Linked DNA regions of Homo sapiens: all the other regions are linked to region 1. The links are contacts of gene promoters, found by promoter capture Hi-C in blood cells and fetal thymus (Javierre and others, 2016). All regions are on one chromosome and are shown on one strand. The core of a region is centred on a gene start or on the middle of the fragment in contact, and the rest is flanking DNA. Distances in the headings are between cores, read along the strand shown.

Evidence for each region. Contacts are between HindIII fragments. The CHiCAGO score rates a contact against its expected background, and 5 or more counts as called.
Region 2: a fragment that was not itself captured here is called in contact with the fragment with the promoter of CD3E in region 1 in 6 of 17 cell types (naive CD4 T cells, activated CD4 T cells, total CD8 T cells and 3 more); the score reaches 11.2 in naive CD4 T cells.
Region 3: a contact is called between a fragment that was not itself captured here and the fragment with the promoter of CD3E in region 1, in 3 of 17 cell types (naive CD4 T cells, activated CD4 T cells and total CD8 T cells). The highest score is 7.0, in naive CD4 T cells.
Region 4: a fragment that was not itself captured here is called in contact with the fragment with the promoter of CD3E in region 1 in 1 of 17 cell types (neutrophils); the score reaches 5.4 in neutrophils.

Annotation. Positions count from the first base shown.
Region 1 is chr11:118,303,384-118,306,083 of GRCh38, reverse strand. CD3E (CD3 epsilon subunit of T-cell receptor complex) reads right to left here and starts at 1,354. Exons shown (of 9, transcript NM_000733.4): 1 at 1,308-1,354; 2 at 1,083-1,190. The coding sequence starts at 1,131. The HindIII fragment of the contact is 4,787 bases long and covers 1-2,700 here.
Region 2 is chr11:118,493,670-118,496,369 of GRCh38, reverse strand. It overlaps KMT2A (lysine methyltransferase 2A), which reads right to left. Exons shown (of 36, transcript NM_001197104.2): 17 at 1,972-2,082; 18 at 1,603-1,676; 19 at 477-670; 20 at 3-109. Among named protein-coding and RNA genes, the nearest start is that of TTC36, 32 kb to the left of the region's middle. The HindIII fragment of the contact is 3,432 bases long and covers 1-2,700 here.
Region 3 is chr11:118,473,837-118,476,536 of GRCh38, reverse strand. It overlaps KMT2A (lysine methyltransferase 2A), which reads right to left. Exons shown (of 36, transcript NM_001197104.2): 3 at 2,222-2,700. Among named protein-coding and RNA genes, the nearest start is that of KMT2A, 39 kb to the right of the region's middle. The HindIII fragment of the contact is 2,169 bases long and covers 166-2,334 here.
Region 4 is chr11:118,127,859-118,130,558 of GRCh38, reverse strand. No RefSeq gene overlaps it. Among named protein-coding and RNA genes, the nearest start is that of SCN4B, 24 kb to the left of the region's middle. RefSeq lists enhancers at 1-175, 176-677. The HindIII fragment of the contact is 4,106 bases long and covers 1-2,700 here.

The sequences.
Region 1 (2,700 bases), core at 105-2,604:
CCAGCAGCAGATTAATAAACTTGAGAGCGTACTAGACATGCGGAATCTCCATTTCCAGTCTGGGTCTTTTGAAACAGAAGCTGCATTTTTAACAAGATCCCCAGGTGATTTGTGTGCACATTCAAGACGTGAGAAACCCAAGATGAAGCAGGAAGTGGAGACATCGTTGCTGTGGGTCTGAGACGGGAGCACCAGCTGTGATAGTGTTTTCTAGGTCTTTGAAATAAAACCATCACGAGCCATTTTGCCTCATGTGGTGCAGCCATTTAGAGTACAAACAGTCCTGGTCTCACAGATTGGCTTCGGCACTTACTATGTGGTTTAAAACAAGTTATTTAACTTTTTTGAGTATCAATTTCTTAATCTGTGAAGTAGAGAGGACTTATCAGTTTATATAGTCAAAATTAAAAAGAATTTTAAAAAGAGGATATAACACCTTCCTTCCTAGGCAGAAGTAGGATTAAACCAGTTAACACGTCTAAATAATTTTTTCTTTACACAGTATCTGACAATAAATGGCAACTTTTTTTGGTATTATTTATCTCATATGAGATACAGAAATGCTCTTGGTTATTTATCAATTCATAATCCATCTTGCTTCAAAAAAATGAAATAAACTGAAAGTTGTTGGTCACTTGAAAAGGACTAAAAATTACGAGGCGTTTTATGGTCTCAAAGATAGTGAATTGCTATATATGCCCTGTGCAGAGTTTGGACGCAAGTATCTGGTCTCTTCAAAACAAGGAGTGGAGCTTCGCTCTTCCAGTCTCTTTTGGGTTAGTTCTGGAGGGCTGGGTAAGTTGGAATGAGCTCGTACTTAGAGGTAGCGAGACCTCTCTGCTCACAATAGCTATGATCACCCCAACTGCTCTTCTTTGCCTGCTCCCCGAACGCTCTCCCAGGCACCCGTGGCCTATCTTTTTCTTTAGTCCCCAGCTCTAATCCCTCACCCTAACATAGCACAAACAGTTCCTTACATCTGGTAAATGAGGCTCCTTGGTGCCACTAGGCAGTGCCAGGTAAGGCTGTAAGCCTTCCAGCGGTCTGGAGACACACCACCCTTTCCACTCCATCCTACTCACCTGATAAGAGGCAGAGGCCCAGAACTCTCCAGTGAGTGCCCGACTGCATCTTTGTTTCATGGGACTGTTACTTTACTAAGATGGCGGAGGCCAGCAGACTTACTACTTCTGGAAAAAAAGCAAAACAGATGACTTTTTCAAAACATCTGCTAGAGATAAGGACCCTGGGGCCATTGTTCCCAATGCTAGGATGAAAAAGGAGGGCTTTATAAGAGAGAGACTCACCATTTTCTGAAGCAGGCACCTGAGGCTGGGAGGGGAGGAGGGTTTCTGAACCCCACACAGGAAGTAGAGAGGCCTCTGGGCCTGCGGGTTTTACCTCACTTGGAAACGTTCAAGGCAGAGGCCTCCACCTGGACTGGTTGAAGAAAGCTGGGTCCCACAGCCTTCCTAGAAGGCCAAACAAGAGGACTCTGACAATACCTGGAGGGGCCATGAAAAATACATGACATTTAGCTGTCCAGACCATGTAGTAGGTTGGCACAAAAGTAACTGCAGTTTTTGCCATTAAAAGTAATTGTAATACAATATGCCTCCACATTGCGGGGTCTTCCTTCCTCTATAAGCTCTGACAGGAAGAGGGAGATGCACTGAACATTTGCTTTCTGTGTGGTGGATCTGGCATGGAGCAGCAGGGTGCAGCCATCTTATTAACAAAACTTGTTGGCTTGAAAATACATGTTGACTTAAATCCATAAGAATTAAATCCAAAGAAAAAATGCCACTTTTTACCTATATTCTTTACAAAAATATTTAAAAACACAAGACTCAATGTTGAACAGGGTAAAGAGTGATAGTGTCAAAGTCTGCTGGTATGAGTGTGAATTGATGTAACCTTTCTTTATGTTTAAGCATGCATTAATCAAATGCTTACTATATCCAAGCACCGTTCTAAGAGCTTTTCTGATATATCTTATTTAATCCTCAAAACGACCCTCTAAGGTAAGTATTATTTTTATTTTTATTTCCATTTTATACTTGAGCAAACTAAGGCTCAGGCAGGTTATCTAAGTTGCAGATTACAGAGCTGGGACTCTAGAAAACATTTTGATGAAATTCACTTATTTAATACATATTTTCTGTCTACTGTACTGTAGTTATATGCTGGGTGCTAGTAATACAGGAGAAACAAGATAAATAGTCCTCTTGGATAAAAAAGGAAATGTGGAGATTAAACAGATAACCTCATAACCAATAACCATGCCCCGCATGATGGTGTACACCTGTATTCCCAGCTACTCAGGAGGCTGAGGCAGGAGGACTGACTGAGCCCAGGGGTTCGAGACTGCAGTGAGTGTGATTGTGCCTGTGAATAGCCACTGCGCTCCAGCCTAGGCAACATAGTGAGATCCCATCTCTAAAAAACCCCCCAGATAACTTCAGGAGATTGATGCTAAGAAAAAAGACGTTCAGGTGCTGTGGGAGTGATAGAAGGGATCTAAGATAGTCTGGGGTGGGATGGGGAAGAGAAGGTCCCCCTGAGCAGGTGACATCTAAGCTGAAATTTGATGGAGGAACAGCAATGAACCAGGTGGAGTGGAAAGCATTCCAGATAGAGGCAGCAGCATGTTTGAAGTCCAGAGATGAGGAAGAGAAATGGAAAATCCAGCACGGCAGG
Region 2 (2,700 bases), core at 131-2,630, 190 kb before region 1:
ACATTAGCACTGTCATCACCATAAGTCAAACATAACGCACACTGTCTATTGTCTTCTATGCCTGGGGGTGGGTTCAGCTCTGGACTGTCTTCTCGACTCCTATCAGTACCTTGAAATCCAAAAGACTCCCATCAATACCTTGAGATCCAGTTAAAATTGGCAATACTATGTCTGATTTCAAGGAAAAAAGAAATAATTCAGCTTACATAGCCCACAGCCTATAAAATAACCACTTTTCAAAAAGTGTTCAGAGTTACGCTACCTCATCATCTATGTTACAATACTCCAGAGTATTTATATCAAGTCCTCATTAACACCTCAAGTGAAGCAAAATTAATGATGGTATTACATTTAAGGATGACCTGAAAATTCCTTTCTGATATCCAAGTATATCTAATTTTAGTGAATTGGATTCACGAAGTCAATCATCTGCATCTAGAGGGAAATGGGTGACGACTCTCCTTTTGGTGGCTTACTCAAAATTGGTGGTGTAGGAGGATGCAGAGGAGTTGGTGAGTCTGGTTCTCCAGGACCTTTGGGTTTGGGAGCTGGAATGATTTTCTTCATTAAAGGAGGCTGCTCAGTGTGGCTGTTTTCCTCTCGCTCCTGCCACTGAGCATAATTATGGTCAAGTGAAGGTGGAAGCACTGCGTTTGGTAACATCCCACTGCTGAAAATAATTGATTCAACAAGCATTTATTGAACTCCTACAGTATACCTAGAACTGTATAAAATAAATTCTTGATATCACCTGTTGCCCCATGTAGGAGCCATTCACAGAATATAAGAACAAGTCACAGCGTTTGAAAATTGCTGAAGTACACAGAACTCAATATTTTAAAAAATATCTCAACATATGACTCTTGGTTAAACTTGCTGAAACAAATGATAACCCTATCAAAAACTCAAAAGAGGCCGGGCATGGTGGCTCATGCCTGTAATCCCAGCACTTTTGGGAGGGTGAGGCAGGCGGATCACCAGGTCAAGAGATCAAGACCATCCTGGCCAAAATGGTGAAACCCAGTCTCTATTAAAATACAAAAATTAGCTGGGCATGGTGGTGCCCGCCTGTTTTCCCAGCTACTTGGGAGGCTGAGGGAGGAGAATCGCTTGAACCAGGGAGGCGGAGGTTGTAGTGAGCCGAGATCATGTCACTGCACTCCAGCCTGGTGACAGAACGAGACTCCGTCTCAAAAAAAAAAAAATAAATAAATAAATAAAATCAAATCAAAAGAATTTACTGGAATAAAAATTAAAGGTTACATATGGAAAATCAAGAGCAGTACAAAGCACCATTTGAACTATCAGTCAAACAGAACCCATTTATAACAAGGCCAGCTACATGGCTGTACCACACATGTATTGTACATTTGTCACAATTAAACCAAGCTCCCTACAATAAAACAAATATAAAAGTAAAGAACAAAAAGGCAATTGCTTATAACAAACATTAAATGTAGTCCTCAAAACCACACCGAAAAGGCATTTCAACCAATTCATTTCTAGTATTAAAACCTTTTGGAAAACTGCAATCTAGAAATATGAGAACTCTCAGATTTCTAGCCGATGAGGAGAAAAAAAAGTTATGCTAAATTCACTTACTTGCTTGATACTTTATTTGGCTCCCAAAACCTGGACTTTTTGACACTGAACCATGGAAAAACACGTTCCATTTGCTAAAAGAAAACACAAACAAAATGTAAATATGTAAACACTCATTTAGATACCACATGAAAAATCTTCAAACCAGCTTCTCTGTTAATACGAGGATAATTTCAGGCCACCAAGAGAAAGATCCATCCACTCTGGCAACCTCACCAAGTTCCTCTCAAAGAATCAGGGGATCAAATTAAACCAAAGATGTTTTATACACACCACAAAGCAAAAAGTAGAAGAGAACAAGTTCATTGTATTCACAGGGTAATTACTTATAGGTAAGCATTAAAAACATGAATTAGTAATATCATTCACCCGAATGAAGAAGGACTTGACCATGCTGTTGGCTTTTTTAATTTCTGGCTGTCCTCCATCTGAATTAATGGCTGCTTGAATGATCTTCACAATATCATCACTGAACTCCAACTGTATACAAAAACAAAATGTTAATTATTCTTAAAACAGTGTGCTCTGAAAACCATTTCCTCTTCCCTCCTTAATCATCCAGCACAGAGATCCAACAGAAAACTCACACCCTATTTTAATGTGGTATAATACTCTTTGGCTGAGACCTTTGAGATTCAATTCACGATTAACCTGTGGCAATTAAGAGATGCCAGGCTAATGAGGTAAGAATGCAAACAAATTGGCTGTATCATGATAAATTATCCAAGCAGGTCCACAGTTTTTATTTTGGATTAAAATAAATAAACAGTGGCTCACGCCTGTAATCCCAGCACTTTGGGAGGCTGATGTGGGTGGATCACTTAAGGTCAGGAGTTCATGACCAGCCTAGCCAACATGGTGAAACCCAATCTCCGCCAAAAATACAAAATTAGCCAGGCATGGTGGCACATGCTTATGTAATCCCAGCTACTTGGGAGGCTGAGGCAGGAGAATCACTTGATTACGGGAGGCAGAGGTTGCAGTGAGCCGAGATCATGTCACTGCATGCCAGCCTGGGTAACAGAGCGAGACTCCATCTCAAATAAATAAATAAATAAATAAAAATAAACAACAGAATCGCAAATATAGATCATGAGA
Region 3 (2,700 bases), core at 1-2,500, 170 kb before region 1:
CAACATAGCGAGAACCCATCTCTACACAAAATTTAAAAATTGGCTGGGCGTGGTGGTACACACCTGTAGTTCTAGCTACTCAGGAGGCTGGGACAAGAGGATCACTTGAGCCACCCTGGGTGACAGAGTGAGACCCTATCTTAAAAACAAACAAACAACTAAGCTTCTATTCCCAATTATACTACTATTTTAAATTCCCCTCAAAATTCAAGCTGCCAGTCTATATTATCAAAAAGTTCAGTGTGGTATAAATACGGCTTATCTAACCAAAAACTATTTCTTATATTTCCTTGATCATCAGAGAAGTAGGGGTGAAATAACTTATAAATGAAAGTATAGGTGGTGGCTCACGCCTGCAACTCCCAGCACTTTGGGAGGCCGAGGCGGGTAGATCACCTGAGGTCGGGAGTTTGAGACCAGCCTGACCAACATGGAGAAACCCTGTCTCTACTAAAAATACAAAATTAGCTGGGCGTGGTGGTGCATGCCCGTAATCCCAGCTACTTGGGAGGCTGAGGCAGGAGAATTGCTTGAACCTGGGAGGCGGACGTTGCAGTGAGCCAAGATCACGCCATTGCACTCCAGCCTGGGCAACAAGAGCGAAATTCCGTCTCAAAAAAAAGAGAAAGTATAAAAGGCTCCAAAAGAAATGTCTCAGATTTTAAAGAGCCGCTGCTCCTATCACAAAAACATCCAACATGGTGTTAAAAATAAGTCCCATCACATTCCTGCTACAATTCTCAACTGGCAGAATTAGTAAATGTAACTATGGCCCTAGGTTGAATAACATTAATTTTATTTATTTATTTTTTTAGAGACGGAGTCTCGCCCTGTCACCCAGGCTGGAGTGTAGTGCCGTGATCTCGGCTCACTGCAACCTCCGCCTCCCGGGTTCAAGCGATTCTCCTGCCTCAGCCTCCCGAGTAGCTAGGACTACAGGCGCATGCCACCATGTCTGGCTAATTTTTTGGATTTTTAGTAGAGACAGGGTTTCACCGTGTTAGCCAGGATGGTCTCGATCTCCTGACCTCGTGATCCACCTGCCTCGGCCTCCCAAAGTGCTGGGATTACAGGCGTAAGCCACCGTACCCAGCCCGTGAATAACATTACAAATATAAGTTTATGGCCATCTTAACCTAACCTGATTTGCTGCCATAAATAGGCATCTACTACATGACGATTTTTTTAAAACCCTAAAGATCAGCAACTTTTCTCAGAAAAGGCCAGTGACTAGCTTACTTTGTTAAACAAATAAACAAAACAATAAAAAAAAAACAAAAATGCTGGTCTTTGTAAAAATATTTGGCATCATCTTAACTAACTGAATTCTATAGCTTTCCTGTTCCATGGCTCAAGGCTAAGTGCTTCTAATCTGTTTGTTTATTTATTTATTTATTTATTTTGAGATAGAGACTTACTCTATTGGCCCAGGCTGGAGTGCAGTGGCGGGATCTCAGCTCACTGCCATCTCTACCTCCGGGGTTCAAGAGATTCTTGTGCCTCAATCTCCCCAGTAGCTGGGACTAGAGGCATGCATCACCACGCCCAGCTAATTTTTTTTTTTTTTTTAGTAGAGATGAGGTTTCACCGTGTTGGCCAGGCCAGGCTGGTCTCAAACTCCTGACCTCAAGTGATCCGCCCACCTTGGCCTCCCAAAGTGATGGGATTACAGGCATGAGCCATCGCACCTGGCCAGTACTTCTCATTTGTATTCTGCAAAAACATATTATCTATTGCTCCAATCCCTCACTACTCAGAGGAAGAGAATGCTCCCCTCCGGTTTTCTATTCTATCGGGGATAGTAAAACAATTTGACTATTAAAATGTACCTTTACAATTAAGTCCCTGGTTTAATTACATCAAACTTATAAGGTACAAACAACTCAGCATCCTCTGTGATATAGTCCCAACCTTAGTTCATTCAGCCTTAGTTCACCAGTTTTCCACAGATGCCAATCCAGCTATCCAGTATTCCTCAAATATATTTCTTACTTTTCCATTTCTACCCACACTGTTCCCTCTACTTAGAATGTTATGTCCTGCCACTTTCTACCTATCAAAATCCTACTGGTCCTTGAAGGACTACTGCAAATACCACTGCCTCCACCATACTTTTCTTGGTTCTCATAACTGGATGTAATTGAACCACTTAGCCTAAAACTTGCCCATAGAAAGGGCTCAATAAACTGTTAGTTTTAATAGGCAAGGTGGAAAAGAGTACCTGTGCTTTGGGCTGGTCGGTTTGTTTAAGACTCTTACTCTTCTCAATCTTGCAGAGCTGAGCTTTGGCCTTTTTTAGGAGGCTGGCAACCCTCTTGTCAGTCATTGGAAGCTTGTCTGCCTGAGCCAACATGGAGCCTATGGAGGAAGTGGAATGTTTAACAGTGCTAGATGAAGGAGTGGAAAGGCAGAGGGTTTTCTCCTTCTCCAGGGATGGGGCAGTTGGGCCGAGGTCCAAGTTGGTTTTTTCCAGATTTCCTCTCCCTTTCTTTATAAGTATTTTGGTTTTGACAGCTGTTGTATCCCCAAGAGTCACAGAAGTAATATCAGTCCCAGAATCATGTGATGAAGACTTCTTCCGCCCTGTTGCTTTTTTGGCAGAAGATGAAGTGGCAACATCTTCACCAACAACCTTCTCTTTGGAAACCCTACCCACAGGATACAAAGCAGAACTACTCTGAATTTCTGATCCCTTTTTCC
Region 4 (2,700 bases), core at 40-2,539, 180 kb after region 1:
GAAAGCCACTTCATCTCTCCAAGCCTTAGTTCCCTAACCTGCAAAATGGGGATGATGACATCTACTGCATGGTACTCTTGTAAGATTAAATGAATCAACAGGTGTGAATTTTTTTTTTTTTTTTGAGACAGAGTCTGGCTCTGTTGCCCAGGCTGGAGTACAGTGGCACGATCTCAGCTCACTGCAACCTCCACCTCCTGGGTTCAAGCAATTCTCCTGCCTCAGCCTCCCAAGTAGCTGGGATTACAGGCATGTGCCACCATGCCCAGCTAATTTTTTGTATTTTTAGTAAGACGGGGTTTTGCCACGTTGGCCAGGCTGGTCTTGAACTCCTGACCTCAGGTGATCTGCTCGCTTTGGCCTCCCAAACTGCTGGGATTACAGGCATGAGCCACCATGCTTGGACTGAAATACTTAAAAACTACAAAGTGCAGGCCATGTAAATGTTAAGTAGTTTGTAAGCTGAGCCAGCATTACGGGAGGAAAACCCAGGTGTGGCCAGCACTGAGCTCACACCCTCCTGTTCCTGGTCAGGAGGGGCTGTCAGCTGAGTGGGTGAGGGCTGGGAGGCGAGTGACCAGCCCTTCCTGACTTCCTGGCAGACTTGGTTATGTCAACTGCCCAAAACCAAACTCATGATTTCACCTCAATCTGACCCCAAATCTGCTCCTCCCCACGTTTCCTCATTCATCCAGTCATCAGGCCAAAAATTTTGGAGTCTACCATGACTCCTTATTTTGTCTCCGACCTGAAACCTTTTTGTCAGCAAATCCCATTAACTCTTATGTTCAAAATATATCATCACCTCAACTACCTCTCGCTACCACCATCCCTACAGTCCTTGCCCAGGCCGCCCTGGCTCTCCCCTGGATTATTGCAGTAGCTTTCTCACTGGTCTTCCTGCTTTTACCCTTGGTCCTCTTTAATCTAATTTCCAGGGTGGTTCTTTTAAAACAGGATTAGATGATGTCATCTCTAGCTCTGGCCAAGGTGGAGGCATAGGGACCATTTACCCTTGCACCTCAAACAACTAAAAAAATTGGAAAGCACCTATGATACAATGGTTTTCAGACCCTGGACAATAGGCAGCAGAGAATTGTCATTCCTGAGAGGGAGAAACGCAGGAGATGAGCTTTACTGTTGCTCCAGTTTACTGCCTGGAGATCGTTTGTAGGCTGTAGTGCCTGGAAGGCTGGGGAGAGGGCCCCAGGCTAAGCCTAGCATTCTCTCTGAGTTGTGGAGAGGTGCCAAGAATCTGGGGGGAGGTTAGGATAGTAAGAGTTTGCAGGACCAGAGAACCTTGGAGGGTCCTCCCAAGTTTTCAGCTGAGCGCTGATAGTGCAGTTGTGTGAGGAAACTACCTAAGGCAAGGGAAGGAGCCTCTAGAAAGGATGAGGAAGGAAAATCCCTGGAGCTCACATAGGGCAGCCTTTAATCCAGGGCTGACCTCACCCCACTACTGAGGCAATGCCCTTTGAATACTCTTCCTCATCTCTCATGAATTAGGAAGTTTTGCCATTTTAGTTGGCTGTAATGTGAACTACTCTTCGCCCTGCATGAGCTCCGGGGATTGCTTCCTCTAATCTTTTCTGGTGGTTCTTTCTCAGCCTCGGGTGTGCCTGGATCAGCAGCTGAAGGCTCACGGGGACCGTTTGCAGATCTCTGGAGCGCTGTCTCTGTGAAGCTGTCTCTTCTCTGAGATACTGCCCAGTGAGCCCTATCCACAGGACTCCTGACTCCATCTCCTTGATTCTGAGAGGTTGCCAGACTCTGCCCGAGTCCCCTTTCCTGGTGCTGTAGCAATTGGAGGGCTCCCTCATTTGGTTCTCCGCTCTCAGGAATCACTGACCTGTGCTGCCTGATGCCCTGTGTCTGAAAGCCATTTCGTGCATTTTCCCCCCAGCGTTTTAGTTGTTTCAGATGGGAAAGTAATTGCATTTTTTGTTACTGCATTCTTGTCAGAAGAAATTCATGAAAATTTATGTTCACTGAAAAACCCGTACAGAGTTGCTTCTAGAGGTTTTGCCATTGCCAAAACAAATAAATAACCTAAATCTCTGACTGGTGAGTAGATAAAACAAACTGTGTCTAGCCATACAATACAATGGAATATTCCACAAAATCCCATGCACTATGGGATTCTCAAATGCAGTATGCTAAGTGAAAGCACTGGATGAATCTCAAATGCAGTATGCTAGGTGAAATAATTCAGACTCAGAAAGGTACCTGCGTTATCATCTGTGACCCATGTACCACTCTGGTGGGGGTGTTGATGATAATGAGGGACACTCCTGCATGTGTGGAGGCAGGGAGTATATATGAAATCTCTTTACCTTCTGCTCAGTTTTGCTGTGAAACTAAAACTGCTCTAAAAAAAATATTAAGTGTTGGGTTGGTTGCGGTGGCTCATGCCTGTAATTTCAGCTTTGGGAGGCTGAGTTGTAAGGATCCCTTGAGGCCAGGAGTTCAAGACCAGCCTGGGCAACATAGCGAGACCTTGTCTCTCCCAAAACATAAATAAATAAATAAAATAAAAATTAACAATAAAATAAAAAGTGAAGTATTAAGAAAGCCTAAGTCCAGGCGTGGTGGCTTACGCCTGTAATCCCAGCATTTTGGGAGGCTGAGGATGGTGGATCACTTGAGGTCAGGAGTTTGAGACCAGCCTGGCCAACATGGTGAAACCCCGTCTCTACTAAA